Regions from separate parts of the Homo sapiens genome. Here all the other regions are linked to region 3. The links are contacts of gene promoters, found by promoter capture Hi-C in blood cells and fetal thymus (Javierre and others, 2016). All regions are on one chromosome and are shown on one strand. The core of a region is centred on a gene start or on the middle of the fragment in contact, and the rest is flanking DNA. Distances in the headings are between cores, read along the strand shown. Region 1 overlaps SRRM1 (serine and arginine repetitive matrix 1). Region 2 overlaps SRRM1 (serine and arginine repetitive matrix 1). Region 3 holds the start of SYF2 (SYF2 pre-mRNA splicing factor).

Region 1 (4,830 bases), core at 55-2,554, 560 kb after region 3:
CAGCTGTCAATGAAAGAATGTCACTAATACACTGTGGACACCTTTTGCAATGTAAATCCATGCCCCCTTTTTTTACATGTTGAACTTCAACCTAGCAATTATTACAACAAATGTTATAGTCTAAAGCTCAAACACATTTTAGCAATTTTGAAATTGAACTGCGTACAAACCAAATAAAATTTACATCATAACAAACATTTCCCCCTAAGACTGTGGGGACACTTGGGCCTTCCTCATTGATCTCAGGGCCTTTTCACGCAGGTGCTTTTCTAAATCATCAAGGTTATCTTCAGCTTCACTTTCAGTCTCCTAAAAAAAACAGAATTTACACGGTTAAGTCTTGAGACCCTGGTGGGAAATGCCGAGTAAAGAGCAGAATCAAAGTGTGGGAGGGGAACATCACACACCGGGGACTGTTGTGGGGTAGGGGGAGCAGGGAGGGATATACCTAATGCTAAACGACGAGTTAATGGGTGCAGCACACCAACATGGCACATGTATACATATGTAACAAACCTGCACATTGTGCACATGTACCCTAAAACTTAAAGTATAATAATAATAAAATTAAAAAACAAACAAAAAAAAAAACCAACCTCACAAATCTTTTGAGTACTGAACTGTATGCAAATATAATGGCCACTGTGGATAGTTAATATTTTAAATAAATAAGTCACCTTTATAAAAAAAAAAAGTGTGGGGATCGCTGCACAACTGATATACTAAAACCCAGGGAACCACAAACTTTAAATGGGTGAACTGTATGGTACGTGACTTTTATCTCAGAGTAACTGGCTAATTAGTAGAAAAAACAATTTTGCTACTTCTCAAAACAAAATGACTTTGCTATCTGTACGTAAACTGCAAGACAGCCATATACAGAGTTCATAAATACCTTCTTCGGCTCTGGCGCTGCCACTGGCTCTTCCTGTGCTAATGTGGTTGTGGCAGCTGCAATGGCTGCAGGGGTCACAGCAGCTGCAGCAGCTGCAGCCACAGCCTTTTCCTTCTTGTGTTTTTTGTGCTTCTTGTGCTTCTTATCCTTTTTGTGTTTCTTGTCCTTCTTTTTCTTCTTTTTCTTTCCACCTCCTTCCTGATCTGAATTCTAGGAAGAAAAAAAAACAACACCCAGCATTTATAATCAATCTGATTAATATTCTGTCCAACTGAACATTTTATTTCCTCAAATCCCCAATGGACAAATCTCAAGATTTCCGAAAGGCTTTGGAGGGTGTGAGTGGGGAAGGCCCAAGGCCAATTATCACCAAGAAAAGTATTCAAAAGTCAGGGGCTATCTCCAGGATGAGCTCAATTCCAGCTCCTGAACTATTTGACCTTAGACAAATTGTTGAACTCTTTCTGAGACCTTTTTACCTAAAATAAGTGTAATAATCCCTACCTGATAAAGCTCTTGTGAAAATTAAATGAGAATATCTGTAAATCACCCATAATACTTGCCTAACATGTAGCAGACTTTTAATAAATGGTACCAGCCATTAGTCTAAACACATGCCTGTATGAATGCCATGTCTCTAGCTACCATCTGAGCTCTCCTATCTTTAGAGTGGGGATGACTGGTTCTTCCTCATGACACACATACCAAATTTATGCAAAAAGCAGGCTCCTATAATTTAATCCATAATATTTCAATTTCACACTTCTAAGCAATTACTTAAAATTCCTCACAAGTTAGCTTGCACAACTATTCAGTCAACCCAATTAAATATGGACATCTGAGGCCACAGCAGGAGGATCACTGGAGGCTAGGAGTTCAAGATCAGCCTGGTCAACACAGCAAGACCCTGTCTCTACAAAAAGTTAAAAACAAAAAACCAGCCAGGTGTAGCAGCATGTGCCTATAATCCCAGCTACTTGGGAGGCTGAGGCGAAGGGATCACCTGCGTCCAGGAAGGCTGCTGTGAGCTATGATCATCCCACTGCACTCAGCGTGGGTGACAGCATGAGACCCTGTCTCAAAAACAAACAAAAAACAGATGGACACCTAACCACTGATTTTATGCAATACAGAAACCTGCCCAAGATCAGATGTATAACTCACAAATGGGAAAAAAAGTTTAAACACCAATATTTTAATGCCCCAATGACATTTTCTCTGCTTCAAAGTGACCATATACATATTTATAAAAGGGTGTCCAAAATAAGGCAGACACATACTCTTGGCGGTGATGGGCTCGGTGTTGGGCTTTTGGCCTTTTTGACCGGTACAGCTGGTGACCAGTTTGTAGACGGTGACTGAGACTGGACGGGGGATGGAGGTGCTGGGGGCTTTTTAGCTGCTGGCTCAGGAGACCCGGAGACAGATCGGGAGGATGAGACCCTTCTTACAGACTGTGGGCTTGGGGAAGCAGCCCTAGACAAAAAGGAAAAAACATTCAGCATTGAGAACAGCCATCTCTCTTCACATGAGAAAACCACCAACTACACTGTACAACCAGGTTATGAATTTCAAATATACCACTTAGATTGCTGGTTGATTCAACTAACATATATCCAATTTACATTACCTATGTTTCCCAGAGGGTGGCTAAAGCCCCATAATCCTCTATCTATTCTGTTAATGATGCTTCTTATGTAAGATTAGTAATGTCAGTTCCTTACATCACACACAAGAAATGTTCAATGTCTTACTCAAGTTTAGTTTTGGAAGCATACCCCTCAAAAACAAATTAATAACTGCTAAGAACCAAGTAAAAGCCTGTGGCATTTAACTTATACCACAGAAACTATCCCAAAAAATGGAATAAGATCTGTAAATAGTACCTCAAGTTTGACTTAAAAGCTCATATTCATAACTTATTCCTTTTATATGGGGGTGGGGGGAAGCTTCCAAATATAAACAGCTATGTAAGTATTCCTAATGGAAAAGCATAAAATATTTTTACTTTTTTATCTTTTTAGGTTCCGGAGTCCTGGAGACTCTCCTAATGGGCCTAGTACTTGGAGACGGGGACTGCCTTCTTTGGGGTGATGACGACGCTCCTCTTCGAACGGGTGGAGGACTTGAGGAGGTCTGAGGAGCTCGAGGCCGTGGTGAGGGCGAATGCCGTTTGTTTGGTTGTGGTGATCGGGCCTCCCGGGTAGAGCGGCTTGGGGAAGACCCTTTCCTATGCTTGGATGATAATGAAGGTGAACGTCTCTTGGTGACTGGGGAGCTTCTTTGTTTGGGAGGTGGAGAATGGGAGACCCGCCGCTTTGGTGGTGGAGATGGTGATGCTCTTCGTTTAGGAGGGGGAGGAGGTGAAGCCGTTCTTCTCTTTGGAGGTGGAGAAGGAGAGTATCTCCTCTGTATTGGAGGAGAGTATCTTCTAGGAGAAGGTGAGCGCCGACGTGGGGGAGGAGAAGGAGTCCTAGGAAAAAGATACATAATTAAGCTGAAAGGCTCAACAAAATACAGAAACAGGATGAAAAGTAATCAGTAGGTTTGGCTATACTGTAGTTAGCACTAGGCAAAGGGAATATATTTATAAGTGAACATGCTATCTTTATATTCTCACTTAAATATCAATAAAACTTGTTTATCTCAGCTGACTGCAACACAGGACACTGTCTGCAGGACTAAGTACAAAAAAGAAAAAAAGACATTTTGATTAACAAAAATTTGCAATTTTCAGAAGATGTGAATTTGTCAATCTTTTAACATCTATACAAAATTAACGTTTTTTGAAAACAGAATCTTGCACTGTATTAACTGAACATCAGTTATTATATAATAACCAAGTAACTGTATTAGCAAAACTCTATTATGGTCACCTTAGGAAGTCTGCACTTTAAAGAGGTCTCCTATGTGGTATCCTCTCTGAATGAGCATTTGGACACTGTATGAATAATTAAGAGTTCACTGCACAAGCCTTAAAGACACTTCTACCTCCCCTCAAAGAGACTGTTCCATTTTCTGTCTCAAAAGGCCACTTTTCAGGCCAAACTGCCTAATTTCCTCTTGGATATTGCAGACTTTTAGATCAAAGTAAATTCCTGCCCAGAGTTAGCTTTACAATAGGCCATATATTTTGGCAATGTGGTAGGGCACAATTTCATCACTGTATCTGGGTAATTACTTAGTAATTCTCAACTCCCATTTCCTCACCTGAAAAATGCAAACAATACCAACTATCAAGCAAGGTCGCTTTGAAGACTAGTAGTAAAGCATATAAAGCACCTAGCACTTTGCCTGGCACTTAACAGGCATTCAAGAGTGGCAGCCAGGCTGGGCAGAGTGGGTCACACCTGTCATCCCAGCACTCTGGGAGGCTGAGGCGGATCACCTGAGGTCAGGAGTTTGAGACCAGCCTGGCTACCATGGTGAAACCTCATCTCTACAAAAAATACAAAAACTGGCTGGGTGTGGTGGCAGATGCCTGTAATCCCAGCTACTCGGGAGGCTGAGGCAGGAGAATCGCTTGAACCCAGGAGGCGGAGGTTACAGTGAGCTGAGATCGGCCACTGCACTCCAGCCTGGGTGACAGAGTGAGACTGTCTCAAAAAAAAAAAAAAAAAAAAAAAAAAAGAGTGGCAGCATGTCATTACATTGCTTGGCAACATATCCGAGCAATGACATTAAAACATTTTCCCCTAATTTTCACTTTAAAATAGTTGTAAAGAAGAGCTACAAAAATAGGAGATTTGCCACTTCACCATGCTAATATTTTATATAACCATAAGAAAATTAGCAAAACTGTAAAATGAACCTCAGTGATAACTTAGTATTACTAAAATAGCAAACAACCCAGTTTTCCACTACTGAATGTCCCTTTTCTGTTCCAGGACTTAATCAATGTTCCTTTTCTGCTCCAGGACCCTACATCTCTTTAG
Region 2 (4,902 bases), core at 451-2,950, 580 kb after region 3:
GTGTCCTCAAATTCTCTGTGTACATTCAAAAAATATTTGTACTAAACATCTTCTACCACTTTGAAATTATTTATCTAATTGTACCCAGTAGAGTAGTATATAAAACCTAAGATCTTTGTTGATCTTAAAGCCACAACTCACCTTGATCGGGATCTATGGCGCCGTCTAGGTCGAGTGTGAGAAGGAGAGCGGGACCGCGTCCGGGATCTTGATTTGGAGCGTGACCGAGATCGTGGTCGGGTCTTCTCCTTCTCCTTTTCTTTTTTGGAATTTTTTTCCGGAGAAGGTTCTTTAGGCTCTGGTATAGGTTCAGGTTTGGGAACTTTCAGAATGTCACTGTGGAAACAAAAGCTTTTTTTTTTTTTTTTGCCTTCTTGTACTCAGCCTTCTAAATCATTACACAATGATGTAATAAAGTATTTCTAAAACTTTTCAAAATTCACAGACTTGTCTCTATCTCCAAAAGACACATAAGTATGTATGTACCTATCACTGAAACCCAGAGAGCAACTAATAATTCCAACCATGTACATTTTCTTTTCTTCTTCTGAGACAGGGTCTCACTCTTGTCACTCAGGCTGGAGTGTACTGGCATGATTTTGGCTCACTGCAGCTTCAACCTCCCAGGCTCAAGTGATCCTCCTGAGTAGCTGGGACTATAGGCATGTGCCAACCATGCCCGGCTAATTTGTGTGTGTGTGTGTACATATATATATATATATATATATATATATATATATTTTTAGTACAGATGGAGTTTCACCATGTTGCCCCAGGCTGCTCTCTAACTTGTGAGCTCAAGCGATCCACCCACCTCAGCCTCCCCAAGTGCCGAGATTACAGGCATGCACCCCCGCATCTGGCAACCACATACATTTCTTAAAAGTGCGAAGTTGTCCACAATACGTTGAGGAAAAAAAGCAAGTTACAATATATAAAATACCTGAAACAATACAACCAAAAGATAGTAATGGTCACCCTCTGGGGCATTTTCTTCTAATATACTCTCCTAAACAATTTCTTTTCAACAAACTAATTTTATAATTTAAAAAATCTAAAAGGAAAATAAGTAGTTTTATTTTAACTCAGATGTCATATTTGCAGTCACTATTAATCTAAAATTGTGATTATTTATAAATGAATTTTTATATACTTGCCTAGTAGAAGTAGCCTCTTGTACTGAAGGTTCTTTTACTTTCACTGAAGGTTCTGGGAGCTCTGGAGTTTTTTCCTTCTTTTCTGGAGCAGGGGAAGGACTCCGGCTCTTGGTTCTGTGACGGGGAGATCGAGAATGACTGCGCTTTCTCTCTCTCCTGACAGGGGAAGATCGTCTTCTAGGGGAAGGAGATCTGGATTTGCGTCTAGGATGAAAGTAATTTTTTTCAGGTTTTTAAATAACATGGATTGGAAGAGAGGAGTCAAAGGGAGAAGTGAGGATTAATCTTTAGTTACACTACTGTTTATATCTGAGATGTTTCCCTATGGAAATAAGACATGCTAACCTAATCTACTTGACAGGGAAGAGAAAGACAAGCAAATGAAAGATAACATTCTCGAGTATATCAGTTATAAGGGAGAAAAGCACTAACTTGGGACTCTAGACTTAGGTTCTTAATCATTCCCAGAGATCAAAAGACCAACTTTTCAGAGGCAAAGAGGATGCTTTAAAGCAAACAATGATAATCCTTGACAACAAATCAAACTCCCAAACATAAAACATTTAGATGCGGACAGATTACAATGGAGTTCATCAGGAAGAGCCTCAGTATGCCAGAAAAATGACTAATACCATTAAAGCAACATGTTCTTCAGAAAAGAGAAATATACATCAAACATCCAGAAGATAGCTTTTTTGCGAGAGGAGAAGCCCTCTTTCTTAACAGTAGCCTGCCTAACTCGAAGGGTTTTTCTCTTATTCACACAGAAGGAAAATGGCAGACATACTTCATCAATAGTCAAGTAGTTACCACCATGACAATTTGTGCTTAGCTCTATAAATATTACTTCCATAAGGAGATTTTAGTATCAAATATATAAATGAAAGGGACAAAGAAATTACCTCTTCTCTTTACTAATTCCAGCAGACATTTATGAAAGAAATAAGCAGAACCCTAAAAATAAAAAGCCTAATGGAGTTCTCACCTTTCACCACAAATATAGAAGCTGAGCCGTGGATTTAAAAATGTGAACCTAACAATAGTCTCACTGGAAGAAGAAAACAAATAAATGATCTGAAGTTTGGGTTCAGTACAACCATCTAAGAAAAGCAGAACAGGGAATTAGGTAAGTATTACATGAACGGCTAATGAGTACAGATTTCGAGTACAGATTTCTTTTTAGAAGAAAGGAAATGGAAAGAAAAAGTGAGTCAGAGTACATTTTTAAAAACCCAAATTAACTGTTATGAACTAAAGCAATATGGAAGAAAAAGTTTAAAGTTTTGATTTAGGAATTTAGAGTTGGATAATTTATGAACATCTGCGAGACACTCATGGCTAAATTATCTGTCTCAAACAAAATATGACAGATTTCTTTAGTCCAGAGGCAAGGCACAGGTCACCATGAAAACTGCATGATGGAACAAATTCCTTGAATAGCGCTGTTAGATTCCTTTTTAACTAAGGAAGTTTCTTAAGACCTAAAGTACCTGTAAAACATCAGTTATGCATCTATTGTATGATACCTTCTTGGGCTACGAGACCGCTCCCTTTTTTCTCTGCTGCTTTCTTTTTCTTCCTTATCTCTTTTATCTTTGTCTTCATCTTGCTTTTTCATAGATGCCAGTTTTTCTTGTTCAATCTGCAAAGACCAGGTTTTCAAAATACACATAGTTGAACATTTGAGAACAAACTGAAGACTACTTTCTACGTGTGTTAAACACCAATGCTATTATCATTTCATCGGCCTCTTCTTTTGAACCAGACCTGTTCTTTCTTCACCTACACTACAGATACGCATTAAGACTGGTATTATCGCCACTCATTTACAAATAAATATTCACTGAAAGTTAATCTCTAAGACCTGAACTAAAGAGATGTTTTCAAGCTTACTTCAAAAAAATAAAAATAAAAATAAAAAATAAAATAAAAAAGAAAATCACTTTCACATTGACCTTATTCTTTCTGGGAGTTCATCTGTATTGCCCATATTAAGAGTTTATGCTGGCTGGGCACGGTGGCTCACGTCTATAATCCCGCCAAGGGCGGGCAGATCACTTGAGGTCAGGAGTTCGAGACAAGTCTGGCCAACATGGCAAAATCCCGTCTGTACTAAAAATACAAAAATGAGTTGGATGTGGTGGTGTGCGCCTGTAATCCCAGCTACTCAGGAGACTGAGGCATGAGAATCGCTTGAACTCAGGAGGTGAAAGCTGCAGTGAGCAGAGACCACACCACTGCACTCTAGCCTGGGTGACAGACTGAAACTGTGTCTCAAAAAAACAACAAACCAAAAATCCTTATGCTTACCTTTCAGTGTTAAATTCAAATTTCTTTTAAGCTACATGCACTCACATATTAAGAATTTGTAAAAATCTAGCAAATCACTAGACTGGGAAAATGACATTCTAAACTCAATGTTTGGTTGGAGGGAGGAGCAGTGAACCAAAACTGAATGTTTAAATACAGTACAGCAAAGCAAAACTACATGAAGATCCTAGCTGAGTCATATACTACCTAAGGTGTCTCGGCAGCCTGGCCAATACTCTCAAATCGACATTACAGAAAAGAAAAGGTTATTACCTGTCTTTGTTTTATTTCTTCTTTCTTCAGTTCTAGGAAAGCAGAAGGGATTCCCGCGATGTTTTCTTGTGCACTTAGCAGCAGGGGCCACAGTTCTCCCATAAATTCTCGAGCATTTTTTCCATTCAAAAATCCAGTCAGGTTGATTTGCATCATTTTGGAGTCTGGATTCTGCAAAAAGACACGACAGGAAGAAAAACAGGTTACTTCAAAACCAACCAACCAACAAATCAACCAACCTAAAACTCATTTAAATTAGTATTTTTTAAGTCTACCATAGGGGCTTAGACATATATATAGTCCTTACTATTTTACAAATAGTCTTCCCTAGTAGCTTCTCAGCAATATAATCTCTAACAGATTACCAAATTCTCTCTCACTCTACCAAAAGCATCAGAGCAGCCTGTTAATCCTTTGTGGATTTCGTAAGTATTTTTAGACTCTGTGGCTGTTAGTGGGCCTTACATTTATTAACTTTAAAAACCATCATGAAACATCCACAAATTCTAGTATTTACTAACAAGAAAAGTATTTGCTTGCCTGGAAATTTTCCCCCAATGAGAAACGGAAAAAGTACATAAACTGCTCCCTAACACTACAGATAGCTTTGCATAAAATATCTATTGTCCAGTTATGAAAACTAACAAGTTATGCATGCAGTCTGTAACTTCTGAGGGCTAAGCTAAAGGCCTGAGTTTTATATAAGGAAAATCTATTATAACAATGCCTCAAATTCTCAACTGTCCACAAAGTGCTAAGAGGTCAAGATTTCTCAAAAATAATTGGGTTTTTAAATGCTAAATCCGTTGGTCAAGCAACAAGGTCTGTATAACAAGCACAGCTCAATAGCACAAAGCAAGTACAGATTCCAGGTGTCTTCAGTTTCTTCTTGGAACCTTGGGGGTTTGGAATCGCCAAGTCCCCTGTAGAGAAAGATGTTCCCTTGGCTTGCTTCCGACTCCCTACTGCAACTCAACCACCTTGAGTTTAATGTTATATCATTTATCTAAATTGCAAAAGACGAACAAGCAATAATGAGTACACAACCACAAAAAAAGAATTGTCTTAAAAAGTTCTAAACTTTAATCTCATGCTCACTACAAGGGGAATACTACCAGATACTTAGGTTTTTAAAATGCACTAAAATACACATCAGTAAAGC
Region 3 (4,576 bases), core at 684-3,183:
GACCTCGTGATCTGCCCGCCTCGGCCTCCCAAAGTACTGAGATTACAGGCATGAGCCACTGCACCTGGCCTACTTTTTCATTTCTGTATCTAACTAGTAGTTGTTAGTGCAGAAAAAAATAATTTTCATATATTCCTCTTATATCCAGCACCTTACTTATCTTAGTAACTTTAGCACTGTTAGTAATTCTGGCATTGCCTCTCTGCTGAGCATGTAAGAGTAAACAAGATGGGTGGACTCTGCTGTTCTCCAGTAATAACGCTGATGAGAAAAATAGAAAATCAACAGACAAAAATAAAACTTATGCAATTGGAGAGAATTAAAATAGTGTCAAATGACAGTACTAAAAGTGAGACAGGGTAGTCAGGGAAGACCTGCTTCTATTTTTAAAAATTTATTTTTATGGCCAGGCACAGTGGCTCATGCCTGTAATCCCGGCACTTTGGGAGGCTGAGGTGGGCAGATCATGAGGTCAGGAGTTCGAGACCAGCCTGGCCAACATGGTGAAACCCTATCTCTACTAAAAATACAAAAATTAGCTGGGCATGGTGGCAGGCACCCGTAATCCCAGCTACTCGGGAAGCTGAGGCAGGAGAATCGTCTGAACCCGGGAGCCGGACGTTGCAGTAAGCCGAGATCGGTGCCACTGCACTCCAGCCTGGGTGATAGTGCAAGACTCTGTCTCAAAACAAAAAAACAAAAAAAAATTACTTTTATTTTTTAATTTAGAGACTGATTCTTACTTTGTTGTCCAGGCTGGTCTTGAACTCCTGGGCTCAAGCAATCCTCCCGCCTCCGCCCCGCAATGTGCTGGGATTGCAGCCATGAACCACCACACCAGGCCAAGGGCAAGACCTGCTTCTTGGAGAAAGTGACAACACCTTAAGCTCTAAATGGAAAGAACTTTCCACTCATGGGAATGAATGGCACTGCAGGTTTTTCCTGCTTACTGCAGACAAAACCAATTCACTGAAAAGTGCTACTGCAGTATACAGTTGTATTAACCTGAGGCTGGCCTCAGGGAAGAAGGGTTACCACTCAAGTAAGTTTTCCTGAAGGGTCAGCTCAGAGGTTAGGGTATTTCATAGTTTGGTGTGGGCAGGGCACTAGGGAATGGATGCTGCTGATTGGTTGGAGATGCAATCACAGGGGTGTGGACTACACTCCTCAACAGCTGAGTCCGCCTCTTGGGGGAGGAGTGGGACAGAAGAAGCGGTTGGGTCATGGGTCACGAGTCTGGGTGGGGTCAGTTAGTTGCCAGAATGCGAAAGTCTGAAAAATGCCTCAAAAGACCAATCTTAGGTGCTACGATAACGTTATCTACAGGAATAATTGGGGAAGTTACACATCCGATGTCCTCCGAAACAATGGCTGGTTATCGTTTACTACATTTTAGCAGAATTCTCCCCTCATAATCCTAACCTCCCGGTCTTTCATTAGTTTTATAAAGGCAGTTTCAGCCCCCAAACAAGGAGGGGCCCTGTTTAAGGAAGGGACTATGATCATCCTTGCTTAAAAGTTAAACTATAAATTCTCCCATGGTTAGCTTGGTTTATGCCCAGGAATGAGCGAAGACAGCCGGCCTGCGAGGCTAGAAGCAAGATGGAGTGAGCCATGTTAGATTTCTCTCACTGTCTTTGCAAAGGCGGTTTCCAGGAACAGCGTGCAGAATAGGGGGCTATCAGGCTCCTTTTGGTCATTTCTTCCTAGCCGTCCGATTCTGAGCTCTTCCCAACCCTTTTCTTGGCGACTTACCTCCCGCTGTCCTGGCCCACGCTACTTTTCGCGGCTGCGCAAGACCCTACGCAATCCAAAATATTTCATAGCTAAAAGGGTCCCAACTTCCGGAGACCTCCCGGAAGGGGCGGGGCTTATGGTAGCCCATTCGTACGTATCGGCCCGTTTGTCTGAAGGTTGACGGAAGTGCTCTATCTTGTTGCCGGAAGTGGGAAGAGAGAAAGGTTGTGATGGCGGCTATAGCTGCATCCGAGGTGAGTTCCACCCACCGTACACCGGGGGTTTTGTTGGTGAGGGTTCCGGGGAGCGGCCTGGAGAGAGGTGGAGGCGAAGTCTAGTTTCGCTTCAGGGAGGCTCAGACACTGTGGGGTCAAGTCGGCGGTGGAGGCCCTAGGCCCAGCCTGTGGGGACCGGCGGGGACTCGGCCTGGGCAGTCCTGGGAGAAGCTGAGCCGGCTCTGCCTGAAGCCAGTTCTCCTTGTCGCAGGTGCTGGTGGACAGCGCGGAGGAGGGGTCCCTCGCTGCGGCGGCGGAGCTGGCCGCTCAGAAGCGCGAACAGAGACTGCGCAAATTCCGGGAGCTGCACCTGATGCGGGTGAGTAGTCTTGGAGGCCGGCTTAGATCCGTCATCTGGCCAAGCCTGTGCGCTTTTGTAGAGGGGACGAGGAAGCCACACCACTGCGTCTGACAGACCAACAGAGCAGGATCATCTGAGAGGAAAGCTCTGTTCGGTGGTACTCAACCCTGGCAGCACATTGGGATCATTCTGAGAACATTTGAAAATATAACTGTTCACTCCAGCCCCTCTCCCACCCACATCCAATTTAATGTATCTGGGTTAGGTTTGGGAGTCTCCATTACTAACAACCTCCCTGCTCCGTGATTCCAACAAATTCTTCATTTTACCTAGGGAAATATGTAGAGCTAGAGACAGGAAGAAACTTGTCTAGTGTCAGTAAGAGACCTGGTTCACTTTAAAAAATAATAATCTTCTGTCAGAATCTGTTTGAGTGAAAAGAAAATAATCATCTGTTTTTGGGACTTCTGGGGGAAAAGAATAAAAAGAAAATAAAAAAAATGGCAAACTTTTGAAAGTCTACAGTGTGGTAGTTCAGCCAGTTGATAGGGAATCTGATGTTTAAGTGCCCTGGAGGTGCAGAGGAGGAGAGAGGAATGCAGTTTGTGGGTCTCCAGGGGGTGCCTCATGTAGTAGGTGACACCTAAACTACTGTTTGAAAGCCAGACAACTAAAGGAGTTAGAGAAAGAGATATCCAAGCAAAGGGAACAAATTCAAAGAAAGAGAATTTGTATTAGGGATAAGAGTCCAGCAAATAGCTTGCTGCAGTTGGAGCAGAGAAAGAGAAAAGCAGCCCCTGTTTCACCATGGAGTGACCTGACAGCTAGGCCATGGTTTCACAAAATCCCAAAATCACTCTGACTGTTGTAGTGAGACAAAACAAAGAAGACTTTTCAAATTACAAGAATGACCACATATTTCTTTCTTCTGACTAACACCAGTGACTGTTATTAACAAATACAGCATTAGTCTCACTCCGTTACTTCTGCCTCCTATATAAAAATGTAAGATACTGGGCCGGGTGCGGTGGCTCACGCCTGTAATCCCAGCACTTTGGGAGGCCGAGGAGGGCGGATCACAAGGTCAGGAGATCAAGACCATCCTGGCTAACACGGTGAAACCCCGTCTCTACTAAAAATAGAAAAAATTAGCCGGGCGTGCTGGCGGGCTACACGGGAGGCTGAGGCAGGAGAATGGCATGAGCCCGAGAGTCGGAGCTTACAGTGAGTCGAGATCACACCACTGCACTCCAGCCTGGGCGACAGAGCGAGACTCCATCTCAAAAAAAAAAAAAAAAAAAATCTAAGATACCTAATTGTAGAAAGCCCCTGCTTTCTGACAGTACCCAATCCACATCCTTAACCCTCCCCTCAGTCACCTGATACAAACCCAAATCCTGGAACAAGCCCTTCCTAACACCCTGTCACTCAAATGCCCACGGTTCCCCGTGGTTTGCTCTCTTCTGTGCAACAGACTCAACTTTGTTGACCGTAGGTATGTTCTTGGCGTCTTTAATTGCAGGGCTTTTCCAGGGCCAAGAATATACTAGGGATGGTAGTTGGGAGGAGTATCTCTCTTTGCCGAGGGAAAGTTAATCTAATAAACAATTAAAAAGACATGCTTAAATATTTAGAGTGATTGTGTAAGGAACACATGTCTGGAAATTAGGAGGCGGGGCTTCCTGGACAAACTGCCACCAGCTTATGACCTAAGGAATGTCTAACTCAAGTTTTCCTTAAGACGATACACTCATTTTGCTTTATGCAATTAAGTTTATTTAAAAATAGACTCTTCTCCCTGCTACCCCAGCTCCAAAAAAAAAAAAAGACTCTTCAATGATACTTCAAATGGAAAATTCCTTTCATTTTTCATTTGTCAATGCAAACTGTGAAAATATTTAAAAGGAGGGGAACTTGGAAAGCATTAGAGGCATTAAGATAGGTTTTAAATCCTCTAACCCAAATTGAGGCTTTTTTCTTGAATTAGGATTAAAAGATAATTGAGGCCTGGTGTGGTGGCACATGCCTGTAATCCCAGCACTTTGGGAGGTCCAGGCGGGCAGATCACTTGAGGCCAGGAGTTTGAGACCAGCCTGGCCAAACTGCAAAACCACGTTTCTACCAAAAATACAAAAAAATAAGCCAGGCATTGTGGCACACGCTTGTAACCCCAGCTACTCGGGAGGCTGAGGCATGAGAATTGTTTGAACCCCAGAGGCGAAAGTTGAAATGAGCTGAGATGGCTCCACTGTACTCCAGCTTG

What was found. The method cuts DNA at HindIII sites, captures the fragments that hold promoters and counts their contacts. A CHiCAGO score of 5 or more calls a contact.
Region 1: a contact is called between a fragment that was not itself captured here and the fragment with the promoter of SYF2 in region 3, in 1 of 17 cell types (M2 macrophages). The highest score is 6.2, in M2 macrophages.
Region 2: a contact is called between a fragment that was not itself captured here and the fragment with the promoter of SYF2 in region 3, in 1 of 17 cell types (neutrophils). The highest score is 5.9, in neutrophils.

Annotation. Positions count from the first base shown.
Region 1 is chr1:24,667,661-24,672,490 of GRCh38, reverse strand. SRRM1 (serine and arginine repetitive matrix 1) reads right to left here. Exons shown (of 17, transcript NM_005839.4): 14 at 2,904-3,368; 15 at 2,176-2,371; 16 at 896-1,105; 17 at 1-309. The coding sequence ends at 205. Among named protein-coding and RNA genes, the nearest start is that of SRRM1, 27 kb to the right of the region's middle. The HindIII fragment of the contact is 3,084 bases long and covers 1-2,846 here.
Region 2 is chr1:24,647,868-24,652,769 of GRCh38, reverse strand. It overlaps SRRM1 (serine and arginine repetitive matrix 1), which reads right to left. Exons shown (of 17, transcript NM_005839.4): 4 at 3,741-3,911; 5 at 2,684-2,799; 6 at 1,158-1,361; 7 at 142-336. Among named protein-coding and RNA genes, the nearest start is that of SRRM1, 7.0 kb to the right of the region's middle. The HindIII fragment of the contact is 2,694 bases long and covers 354-3,047 here.
Region 3 is chr1:25,229,859-25,234,434 of GRCh38, reverse strand. It overlaps SYF2 (SYF2 pre-mRNA splicing factor), which reads left to right and starts at 1,933. Exons shown (of 7, transcript NM_015484.5): 1 at 1,933-1,991; 2 at 2,224-2,331. The coding sequence starts at 1,968. LOC124903881 (a long non-coding RNA gene) reads right to left here and starts at 1,846. Exons shown (of 2, transcript XR_007065555.1): 1 at 1,756-1,846. RefSeq lists enhancers at 1,476-1,725, 910-1,823, 1,966-2,115. The HindIII fragment of the contact is 32,676 bases long and covers 1-4,576 here.